Regions from separate parts of the Homo sapiens genome. Here regions 2 and 3 are each linked to region 1. The links are contacts of gene promoters, found by promoter capture Hi-C in blood cells and fetal thymus (Javierre and others, 2016). All regions are on one chromosome and are shown on one strand. The core of a region is centred on a gene start or on the middle of the fragment in contact, and the rest is flanking DNA. Distances in the headings are between cores, read along the strand shown.

Evidence for each region. The method cuts DNA at HindIII sites, captures the fragments that hold promoters and counts their contacts. A CHiCAGO score of 5 or more calls a contact.
Region 2: a contact is called between a fragment that was not itself captured here and the fragment with the promoter of UBE2O in region 1, in 1 of 17 cell types (M1 macrophages). The highest score is 5.2, in M1 macrophages.
Region 3: a contact is called between a fragment that was not itself captured here and the fragment with the promoter of UBE2O in region 1, in 2 of 17 cell types (M1 macrophages and M2 macrophages). The highest score is 6.0, in M1 macrophages.

The regions. Positions count from the first base shown.
Region 1 is chr17:76,450,797-76,455,080 of GRCh38, forward strand. It overlaps UBE2O (ubiquitin conjugating enzyme E2 O), which reads right to left and starts at 2,356. Exons shown (of 18, transcript NM_022066.4): 1 at 1,929-2,356. The coding sequence starts at 2,345. It also overlaps a transcript of AANAT not described here. RefSeq lists silencers at 1,708-1,907, 2,028-2,567, 2,362-2,530. The HindIII fragment of the contact is 7,923 bases long and covers 1-3,290 here.
Region 2 is chr17:76,156,925-76,161,727 of GRCh38, forward strand. It overlaps RNF157 (ring finger protein 157), which reads right to left. Exons shown (of 19, transcript NM_052916.3): 11 at 4,611-4,723; 12 at 2,411-2,649; 13 at 1,469-1,577. Among named protein-coding and RNA genes, the nearest start is that of FOXJ1, 18 kb to the left of the region's middle. The HindIII fragment of the contact is 1,016 bases long and covers 2,838-3,853 here.
Region 3 is chr17:76,047,723-76,052,605 of GRCh38, forward strand. SRP68 (signal recognition particle 68) reads right to left here. Exons shown (of 16, transcript NM_014230.4): 9 at 2,706-2,804; 10 at 184-248. Among named protein-coding and RNA genes, the nearest start is that of SRP68, 22 kb to the right of the region's middle. RefSeq lists a silencer at 438-507. The HindIII fragment of the contact is 2,312 bases long and covers 1,541-3,852 here.

The DNA.
Region 1 (4,284 bases), core at 1,106-3,605:
TTTTAGTAGAGACAGGGTTTCTCCATGTTGGTCAGGCTGGTCTCGAACTCCTGACCTCAGGTGATCCGCCCGCCTCGGCCTCCCAAGTGCTGGGATTACAGGCATGAGCTACCACACCCGGCCGTTGTTTTCGATTTAACTCCAAAATAGGTATTTCAAGTCAAACTCTGTATAATTACACATAGTGCAGGAGGCAAACGGAGCATAACTGCAAACAAAGTTAACCACCAAAGTCAAGACGGACGGGAACAACAACTGATAAACATAGCGGCTCCCAGTAGTGAGCTGGGCCTACCTCCCTGAGTCCTAGGGCAGGAGGCCACAACACAGAGGATGCTGCAGTCAAATGAGTTGCGTTCCAAAAATCACGAATCTCTCAAATAGATGGGTGGTGAAAAACATTCTTAAAAACTCACAGAAAGACACCAGCAATCATCTGGTGTCACACAGTATACAGCAATAACCCTCTTTTACTGACACAATACTGGGTAATTTTTAACAAGCATTCTGTTGCACAAAAGTAATATTTTCCAAATACTCTTGTAAATGGACTGATAATTTTCCTTCCAAGTCTCAGAGCTGTTGCCTGATTCACATTTCTCTGAGGGGAAGCAGGGTCCTGTGTGTGGATTTGTGTCTGTGGATGTATGTGCATCCCCAACAAAAAGACCCCGCTGGTATCAGCAGTCACTTCTGCCTCTAGGAAATGGATCATGTGCTCTTCTCTGGAGTGGGGCCTTTTTCCTTCTCAAGCCGTTGTCACAGACCCCGCTTTGTAGTTTGACATGAAACCCCGTTCCTCTGTAGTCTTTGTCTCCCACTGTGTGAGAAACCCAGATCAACTTCCAAAGTGCCCTCCCCTGAAATCAGACCTCTCAACCTCCCAAGGACCTAAAACAGCGTAGGCCTGATTCCTGCTTAGAAATGTTTTCTTGAAGGGGAGGGGAAGTAGGAGAGAAAGAAGGGGTGTGAGATACAGGGGGGTGTGTGTGTGTGTGTGTGTGTGTCAATTACTGATAGGAATTCACATTCTGGAAAACAAGCCACCAAACCAACCCGGGTTCAAGGTTTCGGGTTTATGATGACAAGCCTCTTTGTTTTGTAAAACTGCTATACTCACTAGCATCACCCCAAAAACCATACGGGAGTCAGATGTCTGCTTAACAGCTTCAGGTCAAGAAAAAACCTTCGGGTTTCCAAATTGGTGACTCCCCTCTACCCAGGGTTCTGGATTATTTTTTTCAAGGAGTCCATATGCACTTAGGAGTCATCAATCCCGGTCGCAGCTGTCAGAATCCTCCCCCCCAAGTACTATTCATACCGGGGCTCTGATTGCTAATGATTTTACTCACAAAGTTCCCTGCAGCAATTAAAAGGAGGCAGCAGGGTAAAACAAAAAGAGGCTGGGTGGCTTCACCATAATGCAGCCTGTAAGCTAGTGAACTTCTTGGGTTCGGCTGGGATTTTCACCTCTATCTTTGTTTTGGAATGCCCACAACCCCTCCCTGCACGGACCCGGCACGGCCTTCATTTCTGGATGCACAATGCAGTACCGAGCTCCTTGGGGGTCAGCAAAACGCCGCACTGGTGTAACGCCGAACGCGCCCCAGAACCTGAGTCCCCACGGGAGTCGGTCCACGTCTCTAAATCTCGAGGCCGACACCACAGCATAACATGTCTTAGAAGTCCCCTCAAGTCGGGAAGCCCAGGGCCCGCCCGGTCCCGGGCCAGCAGTGCCTGGCTGGCGTGTGCGCCCAGAGCTGCTGCAATGACTTTGCATGGAGTGTACCCTCCACTGGGGCTGTCCTCCCGCGTCGGCCACTGCAGTGGCACCGCTCCGGGCAGGGCCCTGCACGCCGTCCTTCCCTGGCCTCGGCCCGGCCGCCGACCCCCTGCCGCCCGCGCCGCCCAGCCCCCGCCCGCCGCACCTTGGTCTCCTTCACATGCTGCTTGACGCCCTCCGGGTACCACTGGACGCGCACGTAGCCGCGGCGCAGGGGGCTGGCCCGGCCCTCCTCGTGGCCCGCGCCCCCGGCCTCGGAGCACCCCGAGCTCCCGCGGCCCTCCTCCTCGCCCTCCGAGTCCGAGTCCTCGCCGTGGATGAGGCGCACCAGCCCGAAGTGCACGGAGCCACGGTAACGGCCCGACACCAGGTCGTGAGAAAACAGCAGGCGCTGCGAGCCGGCTTCTGGGCCGGAGTCCGAGGACGGCCCGGAGGCCGAGTCCGAGGCGGGCGCCGGCGCCGGGACGGGGGCTGCGGCTGGGGCCGGGACTGCCTCCGGGGCTGGAGCCGGGGCCTGGGCTGGAGCGGGAGCTGCGGGCGTGGGGGCTGCGGGATCCGCCATAACTGCTCTGCGCGAGTCTCGGGCGGCGGCGGCGACAGCGGCGGCGAACGAGGCGCGGGGAGGCGGGACCAGCGGGCGCCGGGGGCGGGGCCATAGCGCGCTGACGTGTCCCTGCGTGGCGCCGTCGTCAGGGAGCCGGGATGCAGTTGCTAGGAGCCACCGCCTCGTCGCTAGGGGACGCTGAAGATGCCGCGGGGGGCGGGGGCAGGATGGAATCCACTAAGAAGGGGCGAGACCAGTGAGGATTCAACTAAAGGGAGCGAGAAGGGGCGGGGACCCGGGAGGAGGAAGTGGAGTGGCCACCGAGGAAGAGGGGAGTGGTCGGGGTGGGGCACAGGATGGTGGAGAGACTGTCAACAACTTTTAATGAGCTCCCTTGGCGTCCTAGCCTAGCCCCCAGGCACTGGGAGCATTGCAGAAAGAGAAAGATACTGTCCCTGTCCTCTAGGTGTTTCCAGTCTAGTTGGGGAGACAAAACAAATACACATTAAATAGATAACAAACAACTCCAACTTGTAAGGCTATAATAGATACGTGTAGAGCATATGTATAATGCACTGTATTCAGGAATTCCAAGCAGTTCGAACGTCATGACCCCTCAGAAGTTGACCCAGAAGCTGGTGAAGGAGGCCCAGAGAAAGGTAACAAAAGGATCAGTGGTCCCAGTGGTTTGGCTACAAATCCATGCAGATAAATTCAAAGCTCCCTGAAGCCAAGAATGAATGGCAAGAGGTAGTATAGTAAGGTAGCTAAGAGTGGGGACCACGGATTCCAATTTTTGGCACTGCCACTTACTAATCTATAAAAATAGGCACACTGATTAACTTATTTTCATCTTAATTTGCTCATCTGTGAAATAGGGATGATAATAGCAATACTCATCTCATTGGGCAATTGGAGGATTAAGTGAAGTAGAACAGTGCCTGGCATTTAGCTCCTTCGATAAGCTTAACCATTGTTGTACTATTTCCAAACTCCCTGCCTAGACTAAATTCCAGACTGGCAGAACTGTTATGGTCTGCTCCATATTGTCATTTTAAAATATAAAAAGTAGGCCGGGCGCGGCAGCTCACACCTGTCATCCCAGTACTTTGGGAGGCTGAGGTGGGCGGATCACGAGGTCAAGAGATTGAGACCATCCTGGCCAACATGGCGAAACCCCATCTCTACTAAAAATACGGAAAAAAAAAAAAAATAGCTGGGCGTGGTGGCACATGGCTGTAGTCCCAGCTACTCAGGAGGCTGAGGCAGGCAAATCGCTTGAACCTGGGAGGCTGAGGTTGCAGTGAGCCCAGATCGCGCCACTGCACTCCACCCTGGGCAACAGAGCAAGACTCTGTCTCAAAAAAATAAATAAATAAAAATAAATAAAATATAAAAAGTAACTCTAGGGCCAGGCGTGGTGGCTCATGCCTGTAATCCCAGCACTTTGGGAGGCAGAAGCAGATGGATCACCTGATCACCTGAGGTCAGGAGTTCAAGACCGCCCTGGCCAACATGGCGAAATCCCTTCTCTACTAAAAGTACAAAAATTAGCTGGGCGTGGTGGTGTGCACCTGTAGTCCCAGCTACTTGGGAGGCTGAGGCAGGAGAATTGCTTGAATCTGGGAGGCAGAAGTTGCAGTGAGCCGAGATCATGCCACTACACTCCAGCCTTGGCAACAGAGCAGGACTCTGTCTCAAAAAACAAAAAACAAAAAAAAGGCTGGATGTGGTGGCTCTTGCCTGTAATCCCAGCACTTTGGGAGACCGAGGCGGGTGGGAGACCCGAGGTCAGGAGTTCAAGACCAGCCTGGCCAAGATGGTGAAACCCTGTCTCTACTAAAAATACAAAAATTAGCCGGGCGCGGTGGCAGCCGCCTGTAATCCCAGCTACTCGGAAGGCTGAGGCAGGAGAATCACTTGAACCTGGGGAGTGGAGGTTGTAGTGAGCCTAGAT
Region 2 (4,803 bases), core at 2,096-4,595, 290 kb before region 1:
TCCTCTTTTGTCTTAGTTCACGCAGTCCTTCTTTTTTTTTTCACTTTTTTTTTTTGAGATGGAGTCTCGCTCTGTTGCCCAGCCCAGGCTGGAGTGCAGTGGTGCGGTCTTGGCTCACTGCAACCCCTGCCTCCTGGGTTCAAGCGATTCTCCTGCCTCAGCCTCCCGAGTAGCTGGGACTACAGGTGCATGCCACCACACCTGGCTAATTTTTTGTATTTTTAGTAGAGACGGGGTTTCACCATGTTAGCCAGGATGGTCTCGATCTCCTGACCTCGTGATCCGCCCGCCTCGGCCTCCCAAAGTGCCGGGATTCCAGGCGTGAGCCTCCGCGCCCGGCCAGTCACACAGTCCTTCTTGCCTGGGCTACTGAAACCCTCTCCTGGCTGGGTCTGTCTCCCGTCTAGTCCAGGCTGCACACTGCGGTCGGGTGGGCCTTTGGGGTGTGAAGCACTCACTGTGCCCCTGGCTTGCTCCGAGCCCCGACTTCCTGCTCTGTGCCTTTGCATGCATCGTCTTCTCCACATGGATGTTTCTCTCACCTCTTTCTCCATGTCTAAAAAACTTCCAGGTTTAGCTAAAATGCTATTCCTCCATAACACATTTTCTGATTTCCTCCACTTACAATGATCTTTTCCATCTCTGACACAGCAATTTATCGTCTCTGTTTTGGGCATACTTCTTTTTTATAAAATTTACTTAGTCATTGAACAAATACTTACTGAGCAACAACAACGTGCCAGGCACATGCTATTCCCATGTATATGTCCTGTCCCAGCCAGACCTGAGCACCTAAGGGCAGGGACCACTTTATTTACCTTCCTGTGCCCTGCTGTATCTAGCTCAGTGCCCTACAGAGAGAAGCTGCATAAACCTTTGTTAAGTGAGGTCTCTGTGGGACGCACAGAGTAGAAAATTCCAGCCTTCTCTTCCATTCTTCCACATGGGCCTCCCGACACCCCCCACTTACCCCCAGGACTTTCTCCTTGCTGTTCCCAGACCTAGGGCCCTCTCTCCTCGTATATCTGCATAGCTAGCTCTACCACTTCCCTTGGTCTTGGCTCCTGGACCGCTTTTTAAGAATGGCAGCCCCCACTTCCAGCCGTGACACTCCCTTCCCACATGTCACACATGCTGATCCACAGCACCATCAGGCACACATGTATTTTTTTACCTATTGTCTTTTGTGCCCCCCACCCCAGATAGCAAGAATATAAATGCTACAAGGGCAGGGACTTTTGTAGTGTCCCAGCTACTATCCTCAGCATATAGCACAGTGCCTGGCAAATAATACAGGCTGCATACACTGTTGAATGCATGAATCCAGTGAAACCTTTGCCACTGCCTCAGAGGGTGCTGACAAGGTGTTTGATGAGTGAATGAGAGCAGAGGGACCTGATGAGGCATGCAGGTAGGAGGGAAGTCCCTGGAGTACAACACCCAAGAAGAGGAGAGGAATGTCAATTACCTCTCCGAGATGCTGAACCGACGGTCTCTGAGAGAGCTGTGTCTCCGACTCGCTGCAGGAATGCTCATCTTCCTCTTCATGCAGCACGGAAGAGTTTTGGGAAGTGGATCTGTAGGAGTCCAGTGGAAAAGCAGCTATATCCAACGTCCATTTAAAGAACAGAACTTACTGCAAGGGGAGCTGAGGGGAAAACCCAAATATTTTTTGCTTGTTTATTTTTTGAGACAGCATCTCATTATGTTTCCCAGGCTGGGCTGGGACTCCTGGGCTTCAGCGATCCTCTTGTTGACGCTTTAACAGAGGAGGAGTACAGCCTCCTGAGTAGCCGAGTAGGTCTGGGCTAACTTGCCTGGCTCGAAACCCAAATCTTAAGTAGGACTAGGGAAATAGAACCAGAGAGGGATGGAGACCTCTTTTGGGTGTCAGAAGCGCTAAGTTTTACTTTTAGCTCCTCTGATGACTTGCTATCTAAACTTGGGAAAAACCACTGCCATTTACAGGGTCTCAATATTTTCATCTGTAAAATACCCTCCCCTTTACTCTGCCACAGAAACCTTGTCATGATTTGTGCCTAGCTGGATTTAGATGTTTAAGAGATACGGATCACAAGGTTCCTTCAGTCTTCGGACTAAGCAATGCTCCCAGGGGCCTAGAAGGCCCTATCCACAGTGTTCAACATCCTCTTCCCTATATCCCATCCCCTATCCTTGAAAGAAAAAAAGAATACATAAGAGATTTGTCTCATCAGAGTTTTCTTAAGTACCTACATACCATCTTATTTTCATCTCTTAATGGATGGGATAACCTTCACGCAAGCAGCTCTGGGAACAGCCCAGAGGGTTACTCTGCCCTAAGTCCCCAGGATGTGGGCCAGCACCAAGGAGGGATGAAGCATTTCATCAAGGATTCCGGGGGCAACAGTGTGGAGCACTGGCTACTCACTTGGAGAGACTCTTTTTGAGTTTGAGTCCCTGACTGCTGCTGTCAGACAGGCGGTCAAGAGGCGAGATCGTCCTGACGGGGGGCAGGTGGCCATCACTGCCATATGAAGGGAGCATTCCTGAGAGGTGGCCATCTCCAAGCACGTGAAGTGGAGGAACTGCTGGGGACGGGGTGAGGGGCCCGTTGAGGGCCTCCAGAAGAGATACTACTTCATAGCCTGGTGGAATATTCTCTGAGGACTAGGGGAATCAGAGACAGGTTGAAAAATTAATTAGGTCCTTTTTGTTTTATGACGTGATCATGCTACTTCTCTACACTGAAAAAAATGTTTTATATCTGTTCTTGGGGGGGTCTGGTAAGAACAACTGTACTAGAGGCAGAGATAAAATATCAAAGAATCACACACTGTAGATCCTGCTTATTGGTAAGCTTTTTCTTAATAATCTCTATTTTTTTTCTGATTATAATGGAAATTTGGAAAATACATAAAAGTAAAAGTAAGGAAAAAAAATCACCAGTAATCAAATCACCCAAAGTTACTTTTGTTAGCATTCTGGTGTCTCTTCTTCCCATTTTTTTTCTGTGTACTATTTACACAGTTTTGATCAATCTGTAAATAACAATTTTATATTCTGCTTATTTTATTATACTTTCCTCTTTAAAAAAATAGAGATGGGATCTCACTATGTTGCCCAGGCTGGTCTTGAGCTCCTGGTCTCAATTGATCCTCCCACCATGGCCTCCCAAAGTGCTAGGATTACAGATGTAAGCCACCATGCCTGGCCAGAACATAAATATTTTCCTTTGTTTCTGAAGCCTCTTTATATATGTCCCCTTCTCATAGATCCCCTAAGTTTTCTAACTATTCTCCTAGTGCTGGGAATCTAGTTGTGTCTAACACATCCTATTGTAAACAAGTTTTGATGAACATCCTTGAATGCCTTTTTTTCAAATTATGTTCTTGTTATTAAATTATTAGCTCTTAGATGATGAGGTATAAATGTTTTTAAGGCCTTGATATATACTGCTGTTTTCTGCTGTTTTTTTTTTCAGTGCCTTTTCTAGTTACACTCCTATAAGTAATACAGAAGACCTATTCTGACTGCTTCCCCGAAAGCAGGGAGAATCGCTAAAAAGAAAAGTTTTTAAAATTTGAAAGTTGGAAAATGGTATTCTCATATTTGCATATCATTGATTTTTAATGTGGTTGAACTTTTTAAAAAATTCTATGTTGAGTGTGTTTTGTTTATGCCCTTTGCCCTTTTATCTACTGTTTTATTCAATATGAACTATGGCAAAGACATTAGCTTTTCCTCTGATACACACATTGTAAATAGTTTTTAAAAAAACACTATTTGTTGTCTAACTTTTAATTTTGGTTACCTTTTAGACCTCTGAAGTGCTAAACTTTTTAGGTGGTAAAATGTATGGTTCTTGCTTTCAAGCTTAGAGAATCCTTTCCAATCCAAAGTCAACTAAATAATCATCTATAATTTATTCTAGATTTTGAATGTTTTGCTTGGTTTGCTGTAATGTTTGTTTGGTTTGATGCTCTTAATATAGTTAACTAGTTACTCCAGCTGGAATTTATTTGGTAAGGAGTAAAGTGCTAAACTAATTTTTCCTCCTGAAATAGCTAACTAATTATCCCAATACCATTCACTAAATAATAATCTCTCCCAGCAGTGCGTTAGTCTAAAGAAAGACAGTATCTGCTGCTCTCTAACTGCAAAGCTTTGAGGTTTCACCCTAATATCAGCACTTACACTAGGAAACTGAAGTCAGTTACTTTATCTCAGGCACTGAGGCCACAAAACAGGATAAAGAAAAACAGTTACTTTCTTCGAGGATTCAAATAAAGATAATAAATTGTATTTAAATCCAAAATAATCGTCCCATTGTTTCTGCCTGGGGGAGTTCAAGTTGAACCTCACTGGAGTGAAACTGCAAGCAGATGGCTCTAGGAATGGTAAACATTAACTGGACACCAAGTTCCCAAGGAGGAAAAGGGAGGTTTTCAGTATTCAATTTTCCACAGTAATAAGTTGGTTTTAACGCATGCTCTCAGCCGGCTTGCTAAATACTGCAGCATGCCCTGGTCTAATTCCTTGCTGCAATGCCACGTAGAGAAGCATGAAAAGTTTAAAAAAGCCAATGAGGCATTTGCTTCAGAGGGGCCGTGGTTCCGAGCCCAACTTACTGGATGCTCTTCAGAGTCAGATGTCTGGGATGAGATGATGGGGTTAAAGCTGGTTGGGGACAAGGGGCCCAATTTTTTCCTCATGGCTCGGATCTGAAGCAGTGCCCGGAAGGCTGTGAAGGAGAAAACAGGCAATCAGGACATCCTGATACAGGATTAAGAATGAACAAGAGCCCAGACAGAAACCATGATC
Region 3 (4,883 bases), core at 1,447-3,946, 400 kb before region 1:
AGGCTGCAGTGAGCTGAGATCACATCACTGCACTCCAGCCTGAGTGACAGAGCTAGATCCTGTCTCAAAAAAAAAAACAAAGAAAAGAAATTATAAATGTAAATATACATAAATATTACATATACTCTTTTGTTCAAATATTTTAATAATATTAAAAAGTAAAAAAATTAAAATAACCCTTACCTATGCAAGTATTGAAGATTAGACACCTTCCCTGGCTCTCCTTCAAGGATATAATCTCTCTGTTTCTGCAGAAAGTGAAAAAGGTAAAAAGTAAAGCAACTGATGCTCTCCATCGCTCTGACCACCTCATGGAATGGTGGGGTCTCCAAAGTGCCCTGAACATAGACACAAACTCTAGTAAGACAGGAGTCCTCAAATATCAAAGATCTATACTTGACATAATCTAGAATGACAGTGGCACTCAAGTTGCCACTGGCATCTAAAAATTGACCTCAAATAAGAGAACTGAGAGTAACGGCCAGATGAGACTTCCTGTCCACTCCTCCCCGTGCCTAACCCCAAAGCATTAAAATCAGACATTCCACAGTCCACGGCTCTGTGTGAAGGTCTGTGCCACAGATCCCAGTTCCACCCCTTGTGCTGTCAGAGTGTGCCTTTTGTGGCTGGCCGAATAACATACGCCAGAGCTGTCTATATGCTAGCCTCCGTGCAATCTGGGAAGATGTTACCATATATGGTAAAAGAGACTCTACAGATGTGATTAAATTAGGGATCTCTGAATTATCTGGGTGGGTCCAATGTCATCCCAGGGTCCTGAGAAGAGGGAGGCAGATGGGTCAGAGATGCAGAAGATGAAGGAACGGAAGCAGAGGGGAGAGGAGCTGATCGCTTTGAAGCACAAACGGAGAGCCACAAGCCAAGGACTACAGGCAGCCGCTAGAAGCCAGGAGATGCATTCTTGGGAATACTGGAAAAGGATTCCCCTAGGGTTTCTAAAGGAACACAGCCCTGTGAACCCACTAGATTTCTGACCTCGAGAAGCGTAAGATAATACATTTGGATCATCTTAAACCATCAAGTTTGTGGTTAATATGATCGCAGCAACAGGAAATGAATGCGCCTTTGCGGCATCACATTCCTTACATTCTGTGAGGTGTCTCCCAACTGCTATGCATTCAAGGTGAATGACAGTGACAGGGGCTGGGACTCTGTAGGCACCTCTGTTAAGTCGATGAAGGGAAGCACAATACATAAAGGCAGCCTAACGGGGCAAGGAAGCAGGTGACTCCTTAGAGAAAGCAGTGATTCAAAACAAAGTTTATACTCAAGGCTTTGTGGCAGATGCTGAAAAAAAAATAGTTGCTAGGCAACGAAGTTATTGTTGTTTAATGGGTTCAGCGTTTCAGTTTTACAAAATGCAGAGAGTTCTGGAGATGGACTGTTGGTGATGGTTGTACGTTATGAATGCATTTAATTACCACTGAACCATACACTTAAAAATGGTTAAGGTTTTATGTTTAACGTTTTTTACCACAATAAAGTTTTTATGAAGAGGTAATACTTAATTAACTATCAAAGCTTATAGCTGCAAGTATCAGATATTTAGAAACTGCAGAGATCTCTGTGGGCTAGGATGGTGCAGGCATATGCTTTTCAGAAATGGTAAGCTATGAGCTGGACCTTGAAAAACAGATGGGGTTTGGACAGGTGAAGAGGGGCAGGAAAGATTACCCAAGTGTGCGGAGGGAGGGGAATGAGAACAGTGTAACACACGGGGTGGGAAAGGCATTACTGAGATGCCAGTAAGTGGAACAGCTTGAGGCAGAGGACTCAGAAGGATGCAGTGAAGTACAAGGCTGGGAACAGACTAAGGAAGGCTTGTACACCAGCTCAAGTCTGAACTGAGAGGCCAGTGGTCTCTAAGTAGGGCGCATAAAACCCAGGGAGTCTGGGTATGAAACGAAAATTAGAATTTCTATTTCTATTTATCTCATTCAAAAAAGCCCTTATTTTAATGCAGTTTATATATGACAAATTAGTCAAATAATAAGCTATATAATTCATAAATAAATGCATCAGTGGTGCAGGCTCAATGCTGCCTATGGGGTTTATCAGCATAAAAGTTTGGAGGCCATTGCTCAATCCCTAGAGGAAATCACTGGGCTTTTTAAAATTAGACAGGGAAACTAGATTTAGAAAGATTCCATTTGTACTTTGCGAAAGAAAGGCCTGGAGAAGGGAACCGAGACCAAGCCAGAAGAAGCAATTAGGAGACCTTTGCGGTTGCCTAGGCACACGAGAAAAGGCTAATAGAAACAGGTGAAGCAACAATAGGCAAGAGGCCCTGCAAAGGGAGAAGAAGGTGGGTTTGGTGACAGGGACAAAAGAGACAAATAGATCTGAGGTTTTCAGCCTAGATGCCTGAATCAACCACAGGGATAGTGTTTTCAGAAAAGGGAGGCACTGGAGAAGTCCACCTGGAGACAGAATTGGAGGCCACAGGCTTCACAGGCCATATAGGAAACCATTAGGAGGAACAGGGGAGGGAGAAATTAATTTCTCAATGTGATGGAGCCCAGAGGCCCTTGTTTGCTCCCTTACGACCTCACCTCAAAAAAACAAAAACGAAACAGTGGCCAAGCGAGCAGTGCACTCAGAGCACTGGGGTCCACCTGAGAAGGGGACACAGGCTGACCTGGACCCGCCCAGAGCAAGAACCAGGGCTCGGCTGAGGGTCCTACCTGATCTGGCTTGAGCTCCTCCCGAACCACCTGGATGGCGTCCCGACACTCGCTGAGCATTGATTCAAACAGGCGCTCCTTAGTTTCTTCGCTTTCAGCCTAAACAAGGGCAGATCAAAGTAAGAGACTTTCCTTTGAGCAAACCATAGTCACCTAATGGGAGAGGAGCAAAATCGCACATGGAGTCCCCCAACCACACACTCACTCACGCACGCCACACCAGATATCATTTTAATTGTTACTGTTCTCTACCATATAATGGTTTCTCATAGCCTTAGTCATTCATTATTCATATGGAAAGGGGAGTTCTATTTTTAAAAGCAAACATGCTGAAAAAGCTGTCTGCATAACTGATCTGAGACTTAGCAAAGGCTTTACGTCTCTTCCCAGCACAGCTTCCTGCTACTTCCCTGCAGCGCTTCACCCTCTGCTCAGGACCTGGCACCCCTTGAGGGGCCTTACAGACTGGACTTGGGACACTCTACACTGAAGCACAGCACACCAGAACTTTCCTTATCTTTTCCTTCCAGAACAAACTTGTCAAGCTCTACTGTATGCCAACACAATTACCTTTTACAAATGTGACCCAACTCAAAGATTGTTTCTTTTAGGTACAAGGAAATAATAAAAAAGACTAATCAATACCCACCAAAAAGACAGTTCTCCTAAATATCACACTAAGTTCTTTTCGCCACAGACGTGCTGCACTCAGATATTCCACATGACTACTCTGAGAACAATTTTTAGGACATACAAGGTTGACACGCATGAGACGACAGTCTTTGCACAAGTACTGGGTGTCACCTGTCTGCTACACAGCTAGGGTAAGTGAGAAAGTGATTCACTAACTGAATACCTGCCAAGCCACATTATCGTCCCAAAGAATCTGACCGAGCAGATAGAAATGGACAAAAGGCAGAAAGGGGATGAACCTGTGTGACTGGCAGACCCACTGTGAAATTAAAACATCAACATTCCATTATGGTATTTGACTTCCCATAGAAATTAACACTCAATCTGAAAAAATGTGTTAATATTCAACTGACCTCTAAGAAAGCTCAAACGAAAACCCAGTGCTGCCCACCCCTTTAAGAGATGGTTGGGGGAACAGGGGCTTAAAGAAAAACCCTTTTTCTTCTCTTAAGAAAGCTTTTCTTAAAAGTTCTCTTAAGAATCTATTTCTTCTCTTTTCTTAGTCTCCAGTGTGAAAAAAAAAATCTTCCTTGTAACTTACCCAATACAAATCAAACATACTTTTCCACTTATAAGTTACTTGACTTTCCTGTTGTTCACTAACTTGGGAACGAACTGGGGCTCATTCATGCTATAAATCTAGTAAAGCAAACACGGCCACCATTCACTCCTGGAACCACCAGAGCAGCACCATCCAATAGAACTCTCTGCCACGGGCAATGTCCTCTACGTGCACCGTCCAATGAACACCTGAGCACTCGGAAGTTTTATTAATTTATCTATCTTTTTATTATTTTATGTTTTTGAGACAGAGTCTTGCTCTGCTACCCAGGCTGGAGTATAGTGCCGTGATCTCGTCTCACTGTAACCACCGCCTCCTGGGTTCATGAGATTCTCCTGCCTCAGCCTCCGGAGTAGCTGGGACTACAGGTGCCCGCCACCACGCCTGGCTATTTCACCATGTTGGCCAGGCTGGTCTCGAACTCCTGACCTCAGGTGATCCACCTGTCTTGGCCTCCCAAAGTGCTGGGGTTACAGGCAGGAGCCACAGAGCCTGGCTGGAAGTTTTATTAATTTAAATTTCAATAACCACATGTGTTGAGCGGCTACTGCACTGGACAGTGCAGCACTGGAGCACATGCTTTATAGAATATTGTTGGCCGACCCCAGGTTGGCAAGATTCTTTAGAATCACTTCGTCAACCTTACTGGCCTAATTTTTCAAAGTACAAATCTGTGGAATGGTGCCGCCATATAATACTCAGCAACTGGAATAAGATACATAAGTCTAGAGTGCTTAAAAACTCGAGTAAGACATGTGAATGGCAGGGGGTGGGAGGCAAGGGGAGGGAAAGTATTAGGACAAATACCTAATGCACACAGGGCTTAAAACCTAGATGATGGGCTGGGCGCGGTGGCTCACGCCTGTAATCCCAGCACTTTGGGAGGCTGAGGCGGGCGGATCACGAGCTCAGGAGATCGAGAC